3 separate regions of the Homo sapiens genome follow, and all the other regions are linked to region 2. Evidence: promoter capture Hi-C in 16 types of primary human blood cells and fetal thymus (Javierre and others, 2016). All regions are on one chromosome and are shown on one strand. Each heading gives the region's core, a stretch centred on a gene start or on the middle of the fragment in contact. The rest is flanking DNA. Distances are from core to core; before and after follow the strand shown. Region 1 overlaps LMAN1 (lectin, mannose binding 1). Region 2 holds the start of MBD2 (methyl-CpG binding domain protein 2). Region 3 overlaps SMAD2 (SMAD family member 2).

Region 1 (3,352 bases), core at 398-2,897, 5.1 Mb before region 2:
ATGGTGAATCCAAGAGAATAAGAGAATTATTTGCTCAAAGTCACACAGCTGAACTGAGACTAGGAACAAGTCTCTTGATTCCTAGTGGTATGTTCTTTTCACACTGTTTGAGCTTTCTAACCTTTGCAAACAGGTAAAATACGTTGCAGCTTTTCTAAAAATACAAATTTTTAAGGTTTTTAAAAAGAATGTTATGAGACTCAGATAGTTTGCCTTAAAGTCATAATTCCCTTTCTCTCACCCACTGTCCCTGTAATTTTTAGTGTATGAGTGTAGCTTTAATTTTTTTTATTTGATAAGGGAGGTGTTAGCCCTAAACTTTTAAAGTTAAAACTGTCAACATGAAATTTTTTCCAAATCATTATTGTACAGGTTACTAAGTCTCTGTAGGTATATTTAGCAGTTTGGAAATGATCATTGAGTTTTACCTAATTATAACTTAAAGCTTTTTTCCCCTGATTTCTGTTCTAGATGCTATTCCAAGTTCAGATCAAATTCGAGTAGCACCATCTTTAAAAAGCCAAAGAGGCTCAGTGTGGACAAAGACAAAAGCGGCCTTTGAGAACTGGGAAGTTGAGGTGACATTTCGAGTGACTGGAAGAGGTCGAATTGGAGCTGATGGCCTAGTATGATCATTTCTTTAACTTAGAAAATGTGCATAAATGCATATACCACTAGCCTCTAACTGTTCCCTATTACATATTTTCAGGCAATTTGGTATGCAGAAAATCAAGGCTTGGAGGGCCCTGTGTTTGGATCAGCTGATCTGTGGAATGGTGTTGGAATATTTTTTGATTCTTTTGACAATGATGGAAAGGTATATTTATTGTCAGGACTGTTATCCACTTTAATACATCTATCAACAGAGTTAGGCTGTGAGAAATAATAGCTTATTCAATGCTTTCATCAGTTTGATAGTACAGAACTCCCCAAGCTATATGGTAAATGTGATAATTAGTCTTTATATAGCTAGGAATGTATCAGTTTAATTTACATGTGCATGATTTTTTGTACATCAGCTTGAGGGCATAGTAGAGCCCTGACTCTCAGAACTTTGCAGTGACCCCTGCTCCCATGGCCCTATTTAATGGATAAATACAAATCCTTAGACGTAGGTGGTGAAAACAGTAGTGTTTAGGAGACTCTACTAAACACTTACATAAGCACATCCAAGTCCATGACTAATGCTAGCTCACATATTCATGTCTGGTCATATGTTAATCATTCTTTTTGATCGGGCCAATTTTTCTGATGATCTCTCCTAAAACAGTTAAGATCAAAATGTACTTACAAATTGGAAACATTAGCTTGTGGCTTAACAGCCTTAAGGTTGATGATCTTCCCATCAGCTGGTTGTTTCTCTATTAATTTTCAGGGGTTATTGTTAGCAATTTAAAGAACTTTAGTAATTCCTTGAGTGCCAAGGCCAGGTTATTTTAAAATTTTGAGTCCTAGAATCTTAGATATGTAAGTCACTTCATAGTACATCAAGAATGATGTAGAATGCTTTGATTAAAGACATTTTTTAAAATGTTTTCCTTTTTTTTAGAAAAATAATCCTGCTATAGTAATTATAGGCAACAATGGACAAATCCATTATGACCATCAAAAGTAAGTGTGTGTTTTTTACATTACTCCTGATTTCAGCTTCTTTTTGGAATCCTTATGAAATACATTGTTTCAAATCTGAACACCTTCCAAATGAAAAAAATACTGTTCTTTTTCTTGAGACATATTTTGTAACTTGGTAGAAAGGTTTTATTTTATTTGGTTCTGTTCTGAAGTTCTATCTGTGGACCATCTCAGATTCAACCATGGTATGTGTTTTTAATTTAACCTCAAATTATTTAATAATATACTTTTGAAAGTTTATAGACTGTTCCTGGCTCTCAGTGATGCCACTAATCATGCATTTTTATCTTCATTAAAAGGGATCTTTAAAAAATAAAGTTGAGCCTTGATTATTAAGGCTGATGATTAAGCAATTTATGCCATCTTATTTAACTTCAATATTGTGTTATTTAAAGACTCAGTGGTTTGCAGAGATTCTAAGTGTTCAGTACAGTCAACCCTCTGTATTTGTGGGTTCCGTATCTGTGGATTCAACCAACTGCAGATCAAAAATAATACAAATTATTTTGTGTACGCAACAAGAATACAAATTTTAAAATACATTGTAACAACTATTTACAAAGCATTTACATCATATTAGGTGTGATAAGTAATCTAGAGATGATTTAAAGTATACAAGAGGATATGTACACGTTATATGTAAATACTGTGCCATTTTATATAAGGGACTTCAGCATCTGAGGATTTTGGTATCCACAGGGGTCCTGGAACCAATGTCCTATGGATGTTGAAGGATGACTGTATATTTATAATGTATATAAATTAGGTATGTACATTTTTTATTTTCACGTGTTTGTTGTGGAGGAAATAGCTTTTAACCAGTGAACTGTAAGAAAGGTGACTTATCCATGTGCCTGTTTACTGTTTTTCTGCCTTAGTGAGTTTCAGCCCTGGTAGTTCATCATAACTCCCTATGGAGCTATTTAAAATGGAGGTGCCTAGGCCACCTCCTTTTGATTCTGCTTCAGTTGATTTGGAGTGGAATCTACATGTTAAAAGCCCAGAGAGTGATTCATGTTCTGCCCTAGGGTAGAGATTCACTGCCTTAGTCTCATGTAGTCTCGTGTAGTCTTTTGAGTAAATAACATAAAGTATCTCAAGACTTTTTCATAACTTGATATTATTTTAGTCTTCCTGAATTTTTAAATATTGAAAAGCTGAGTGTCTTGTCTGTTTTCCTCCCCCTTACACTATAGTGACGGGGCTAGTCAAGCTTTGGCAAGTTGCCAGAGGGACTTCCGCAACAAACCCTATCCTGTCCGAGCAAAGATTACCTATTACCAGAACACACTGACAGTAAGTAACATCTATTTAGAGAGAATCAAATAAACAATGTTACAGTATCACTTTTCATTTTGAATTTTTGATAGAAATTAAATGCACTTAAATTTGGATATGCTTACATACTCTTCATTGTTACTCTAAGAGAACGGAGGTGGCTTCACAGCTCAGTGTAAGTGGTCATCTGTTGTAAACCCCTGATGGTATGTTTCCATTTAGTCAGTAAATGTTTAAGCCCCCTACTGTATAGCACATGTGAGAGATATATATATCTATAGATAGATAGATAGATAGGTAGATAGATAGATAGACGGATAATCTCCAAGCCTTCAGGATACAAATATGAGTAAGACAGATGGACTTTCTCCCCAGAGAGCTTATAGCCTAACAGAGGACACACAAATGTATCATTCCTATGCTGTGTGATAAATGCTGCGTT
Region 2 (3,486 bases), core at 421-2,920:
TTGCCTCAGCCTCCCGAGTAGCTGGGATTACAGGCGCACGCCAGCACGCCCAGCTAATTTTTGTATTTTAATAGAGATGGGGTTTGACCATGTTGGCCAGAATGGTCTCTATCTCTAGACCTCGTGATCCGCCGGCCTCGGCCTCCCAAAGTGCTGGGATTACAGAAGTAAGCCACCGCGCCCGGCCACAAATGACTTCTTTTTTTTTTTTTGAGACAGAGTCTCGCTCTGTCTGCCAGGCTGGAGTGCAGTGGCGTGATCCAGTTCACTGCAAGCTCCGCCTCCCGGGTTCACGCCATTCTCCTGCCTCAGCCTCCGGAGCAGCTGGGACTACGGGCGCCCGCCACCACGCCCAGCCAATTTTCTGCATTTTTAGTAGAGACGGAGTTTCATCGTGTTAGCCAGGCTGGTCTTGAACTCCTGACCTCAGGTGATCTGCCCGCCTCTGCCTCCCAAAGTGTTGGGATTACAGGCGTGAGCCACCGCGCCCGGCCCACAGATGACTTCTAAATGAATGTCTCCAGTACTGATCTCCTCAGAACTCATTTCTTGATGATTTTTTACATTCACATTTCTAAATTTCTTGTAGGAAACCACAAATTAGTGTCTTTCAACTAAAGGACATTAAAAGAAGACTAAGGTCAGGTTTAGAGACAGACAAGTTTGTGTGTATGAGTTAATGTTTGCATATACTGCAAAGATAAACCAAATTAATTTTAGATTTTTGTTGCTTTATATTAATCAACTTTTTCTATACGTTAAACTTGGTCCTCAGTTTTTAGGGCATATGAGTATAGAAACCCAAGATAGCTTATCATCAGGCTGATAACATGTGCTTTACATTTTTCAATCTTCCAAATATTTCATAATATATTATCTTGAATATCAATAGCACACTTCTATAAGTGTTCGACAACTTATAGAAAATATGCATTTCTAAAATTCAAGTTGGCAGACCGAAAAGAATACCACACAGTTTCCTAAAGGCTTGTGACAGTAAGTTAGGCTGGACTTTCAACATAATGGAATATTTACCAAATAAAAGGCCACTGATTTTTGTATTAGACAAAGACATCTGGAAATTTCTAGATGGATTTAGGGATTCTGGTCATTCTAAGGAGAATCTAGAGGTAAGCCCCATCTGACTCATGGGCATATTCCAAGTTATCATTTCCTTTCCTACATCCTTACAAGGTTCCAGGAGAATCTGTCAATGGCTCTGAAGCCAGGCTCAGGAGGGAACTGGTATTCAGCGAATGGGACACTTTGCTTCATTCCTTCATTATAAGCTCCCCTGCAAGCTTTGTGCAGAGGGGCGGGAAAAGGGGCTATCACCCCCTTAAATGAATAGCCGAGTTGGTATGTAATATAAGATCTATTTTGCTTGTTATTCATTAATTGGGAAGCAAACATAGGTAAAATCACATAATGGTGGAGGTTACCCCGTTTGAAACAAACTAACCACAGTCACTATGACACCCCCAGCTGGTGGCTAGCCCGACCAACCTTCCCAGCTCCGCGCGCCCAGTGGGGGCCGGAAAAGCGCGGGAGGGGGCGTGGCCCCGAGAAGGCGGAGACAAGATGGCCGCCCATAGCGCTTGGAGGACCTAAGAGGCGGTGGCCGGGGCCACGCCCCGGGCAGGAGGGCCGCTCTGTGCGCGCCCGCTCTATGATGCTTGCGCGCGTCCCCCGCGCGCCGCGCTGCGGGCGGGGCGGGTCTCCGGGATTCCAAGGGCTCGGTTACGGAAGAAGCGCAGCGCCGGCTGGGGAGGGGGCTGGATGCGCGCGCACCCGGGGGGAGGCCGCTGCTGCCCGGAGCAGGAGGAGGGGGAGAGTGCGGCGGGCGGCAGCGGCGCTGGCGGCGACTCCGCCATAGAGCAGGGGGGCCAGGGCAGCGCGCTCGCCCCGTCCCCGGTGAGCGGCGTGCGCAGGGAAGGCGCTCGGGGCGGCGGCCGTGGCCGGGGGCGGTGGAAGCAGGCGGGCCGGGGCGGCGGCGTCTGTGGCCGTGGCCGGGGCCGGGGCCGTGGCCGGGGACGGGGACGGGGCCGGGGCCGGGGCCGCGGCCGTCCCCCGAGTGGCGGCAGCGGCCTTGGCGGCGACGGCGGCGGCTGCGGCGGCGGCGGCAGCGGTGGCGGCGGCGCCCCCCGGCGGGAGCCGGTCCCTTTCCCGTCGGGGAGCGCGGGGCCGGGGCCCAGGGGACCCCGGGCCACGGAGAGCGGGAAGAGGATGGATTGCCCGGCCCTCCCCCCCGGATGGAAGAAGGAGGAAGTGATCCGAAAATCTGGGCTAAGTGCTGGCAAGAGCGATGTCTACTACTTCAGGTACCTCCCTGGGGGCGGGGAGGGGGTGGCGGGGTCAGGCCGGGGTCAGGGGTCAAGAGCGGGCCTGGGCAGAGGATGAGCGCTGGGGCCCGGGGGGCATGTGGCAGGGACAGGCTGGTTTGGTGGTGGAAGGTGGCGGAACCCTTGGGTGAGAGTTGACCCCAGTGCGGTGGGAGGCAGTGTCAAAAGGTGAGGGCCCGCAGGAGGGCATCTTATGTGGAAGGCGTCGGGGAAGATGGTTTGCGAAGAAAGGGTTAGCCTGGCAGGGATGGTTAGTCCACTGAAGGGTTAAAAGGAGGTGTAATTCATCGAAACTATAAAACCCAGTCACTGTTGGCTCCTGTCCCAGCCTGTCCCAGATTCATCATCACAAGTGTTAAGCATGCACATGTGGAAGAATGAGCTATCTACAGTAACAAGGTTTCATTTACTTCATCCAAGAAAGTTTTGTATAAAGCAGCTATTTGGAATGCCTGAAGTTTTTTTGGAACTTCTTGGTATTGCAGAATATACTCTTTTGAAACTGACACACTGTACTAAGTTTTTAGACTCCTAGACCAAAATTTGCTCCCCAGGGAACATTTGTCAATGTCTGGAGACATTTTCGGTTCTCACACCTGGGGAGGGTGTGATACTGGCATCTAGTGGGTAGAGGCCAGAGATGCTGCTACATATTCGATAATACAAAGGAAAGCTGCCACAACAAAGAATGATCTGGCCCAAATTGTCACCTGTGCTGAGGTTGAGACATCCTGTTTTAAATGATTCAAGGTTTTTCACCTTAGTGTAATCTTGCAATCCCGTGGTCATGCTGCTGATGTCTTCAGTTTGTGTGACCCAGTAAGCTCAAGAAAGTGCCTATGGCAATTGACATCCGTGGACTTAATACACATTTACTAAATTTTGTAATAAGCCATGCTATTGATAGAAGATAATATAAACTTGTATTCAGTAGTTTGGAGGTACGTGTTTGTGGACTGACTGAAGCATTTTTCAGGGAATGTATATGGGTATTGGAGACAATTGTCATTTAGCTATTGTAATAATGTTATAAAGGATTTCCTGTCCTCTTCAAGTAGCTCTGGGAAAATGTGTCTGTACACATACCATGCTTATGAACTAAAAATACTTTTAACTAGATTGAAAAGGTTAAAGAAATGTACAT
Region 3 (3,078 bases), core at 157-2,656, 6.3 Mb after region 2:
AATGATATATACCAGCCTATTCATAGCAGGTTGTGAGAGAGGAAAATTGGAAACCTAACTAGTCATCCAGAGTGAATGGACAGTGAACTGTGCTAGTCATAAAATGGAATGCCATGTGACAGCTAAAATGAATGAACTAGGATTTAGGATTATGTATGTATCAGCATGGACTGAACAGTATCACACTTTCATATAAATTTATAAAATGTACAGAACTGTATTGTATGGATACAATATGTAGCAAAACTGTTAAATGACCATGGGGGAACATCAGGATAGTGATAATCTCTGAGAAGCAAGAGGGAGGGAAATGTTATCAAAGAGGAATACATAGGGGGCTTTAGCTGTATTCGTATCTTATTTCTTATGTCTGATCAAGTACTGCAAAATGCTAAGATATGACAGCTAGATGGAAAGTACATGAGTGTTGAGTGTAATATTTTTGTGTAATTAAAGTCCCCATTTACAATAAAAACCAAGATACCTGGAGAAATAAGTAAATTTGACAAGATGTAAGATTTTTTATGGAGAAAATATGCAACTTATCAATAGATAATAAATAAATGGAAATACTCATTTGCATAGTCGGAGTACTTGATATCATAAATATGTTCTCCATAAACTAATATAAATTCATTGCACTTCCAATCAAAATCCTATAGGATTTTTGTAGAACATGCTAAACTTAAAGTAACCAGCAATACTACACATCTGAAAAATAAGGAAGGGGGGTCACCCTGACAAATATCAAGACTAACTAGAAAGCAGTAGTAATTAATATTTTCTTACATTGATGTTAAGTGTGAACAAATAACAGAATGCGTGTGATCAGACCTTTAGTAGGAATTTGTTATGCGACAGAAGTGGCATTATGACTTAGCAAAAGGTAAGCTTTAATACACAGGCTGTCCTTATGAGAGATGGTTAGATCACTGTCTCACCTCTTAAAACCAAATTTCTGATCTTTCTTTTAGAAACTTAATATGAAAAGTAAACTAAAGCATCCATAAGAATATCTAGAGGGGATTCTCTGTATTACGTCAGGGTATTTATTTGTGCCTCACATTCTTCATTTGTAAATAATAGTACCTAACCCCAGTTGGTTCTTAGGATTCGGAATTCTTGCTTACTGGACTCTTAGGCTTAAGCACTCAATAAATGTTTCCTACTATATTTAGAGGCACAGCAAGATTTCTTTGAAAAGCAAGGTTGTGGCATAAAAGATTTTTAATTAAAATACAGCTTTGTGTGTTCCAAAAGACAACATAAAATGAAAAGTCATTCTAAGGATTTGGAGATTTTTTTGTAATACATACTCAGTGATAGGGTTTATGTCAGAATAAAAACAGTAAGAAAAGGACCACATAGTTGAGGACTCTGGAAAGAGTATGCACTGTTGTTTAATTAAATGTGCAGAGAATGCTATTTGTCAAACTATAATATAGAGTTAATAACTTGAAGGCTTTACTACAAGTTCAGGATAATTAGACCTCTTACCTTATTGAAACTTTCCGGTGAGTAATCGTAGAATCCTAATTTTACTAAGGTATCATTTGGTAAGCTGACTTATTCAGCTGTAAAGATAGTCTTTGTGTTCTTTTGAAATCTGCATTATGTAAGTATCACTTATTGCTGGAATTAGAAATAGTGTCTGAACTTAGATTTCAATTCTTGCAGATGTTGAAAATTTATTTCAGTAGAGAACTTGCTGCCACACCATTGAAGGAAATCTGTATATTCTGTAAATGACTCATTCACGTTTTGATAGCAACTTGATTATAAATCTAGTTTTCTTTTTTGTATTTCATTTGTTTTTAACCTGGAACACATTGTTATCTGTTCCTTGTCAGCCTACATTCAGTCTATTTACACTTCAAAAATATTGGCTAAAAATGCTTCAGTTTTTAAAATAAAAGCTTAACTAATTGAAGATGTATTATCAGCATTACTTACAACAAATGTTATTTTATTACATAATTTAAAAATTCTCCGGAGATATTAGACAGATGTCAGCCAACCATGGTTACTGAGACATGCAAAGGTAAGGCTGGCAACTTTAAGTGTTCACTTAGTTCCAAAATGGTTTTAACTCCTCTTGTAAGACATGGGACACTGAAATCATGTGGCAATACCAGGTCATGTGGCCATTCAGATGACCCAGAATAGGCCTAAACTTAAGTTAGTTTCATTTCAGTGAAGAAACAATATTGTAAAGGTTTTATAGAAAACTTTTAGATCCCCAGGAATACAGCTTAACTCATAAGAAACATTTCTCCTAACGAAAGTGTAACAGGCTGGGCGCTGTGGCTCATGCCTGTAATCCCTGTGCTTTGGGAGGCCGAGGCGGATGGATCATCTGAGGTCAGGAGTTTGAGACCAGCCTGGCCAATATGGTGAAACCCCATCTCTACTAAAAACACAAAAAATTAGCCGAGCGTGTTGACGCGTGCCTGTAATCCCAGCTACTCCGGAGGCTGAGGCAGGAGAACTGCTTGAACCTGGGAGGTGGAGGTTGCAGTGAGCTGAGGTCACGCCATTGCACTCCAACCTGGGCAACAAGAGTGAAACTCCTCAAAAAAAAAAAGTGTTACAGAAACTGTTTACTCTCATTCCTCCTAATGCTGGAAATCCCTTTTTTTTTTTTTTTTTTTTTTGCTGTTTATACAGAAGTTTCATTTTTTATTCTTTTTTTAGGCTAAATTCTTATGAATGGAATAATTGAACCAAAGATACAGATACTTGTAGGGAGATTCTTTTATTTTGCTTTTTCTATCAGTTTTTCACAAGGAACAGAGAGATTACTCATGCTAACTCAAAAAGAGGTTTTGTTCTGAGGATATAATTGTGGAGCTGGAACAGGCCTGGACAGTCCTCAGAAACCAAGCCTAGAGATTGGCTGCTCTGCTTTTCTTCAAGACACCAGTTGTCTCTGCCTAGCTCTGGCACACACTCTTACTTGTACACTGACTGCTAGCTCCCCTGAGTCTACTATATTTTATGCTGCCTCCTGGCCATGTGATGAACATAGTTACTTACATAAAGGCATGTATAAAACTGACCCTTTAGCCTTCAGGGTTG

The links. Contacts are between HindIII fragments. The CHiCAGO score rates a contact against its expected background, and 5 or more counts as called.
Region 1: a fragment that was not itself captured here is called in contact with the fragment with the promoter of MBD2 in region 2 in 1 of 17 cell types (non-activated CD4 T cells); the score reaches 7.3 in non-activated CD4 T cells.
Region 3: a fragment that was not itself captured here is called in contact with the fragment with the promoter of MBD2 in region 2 in 1 of 17 cell types (neutrophils); the score reaches 5.9 in neutrophils.

The regions. Positions count from the first base shown.
Region 1 is chr18:59,352,778-59,356,129 of GRCh38, reverse strand. LMAN1 (lectin, mannose binding 1) reads left to right here. Exons shown (of 13, transcript NM_005570.4): 2 at 472-626; 3 at 710-817; 4 at 1,550-1,611; 5 at 2,829-2,928. Among named protein-coding and RNA genes, the nearest start is that of LMAN1, 4.8 kb to the left of the region's middle. The HindIII fragment of the contact is 2,400 bases long and covers 448-2,847 here.
Region 2 is chr18:54,222,853-54,226,338 of GRCh38, reverse strand. It overlaps MBD2 (methyl-CpG binding domain protein 2), which reads left to right and starts at 1,670. Exons shown (of 7, transcript NM_003927.5): 1 at 1,670-2,321. The coding sequence starts at 1,780. RefSeq lists enhancers at 1-286, 287-829 and a silencer at 1,580-1,969. The HindIII fragment of the contact is 9,949 bases long and covers 1,304-3,486 here.
Region 3 is chr18:47,912,435-47,915,512 of GRCh38, reverse strand. The region is part of intron 1 of SMAD2 (SMAD family member 2); the gene reads left to right. Among named protein-coding and RNA genes, the nearest start is that of SMAD2, 17 kb to the left of the region's middle. The HindIII fragment of the contact is 1,025 bases long and covers 894-1,918 here.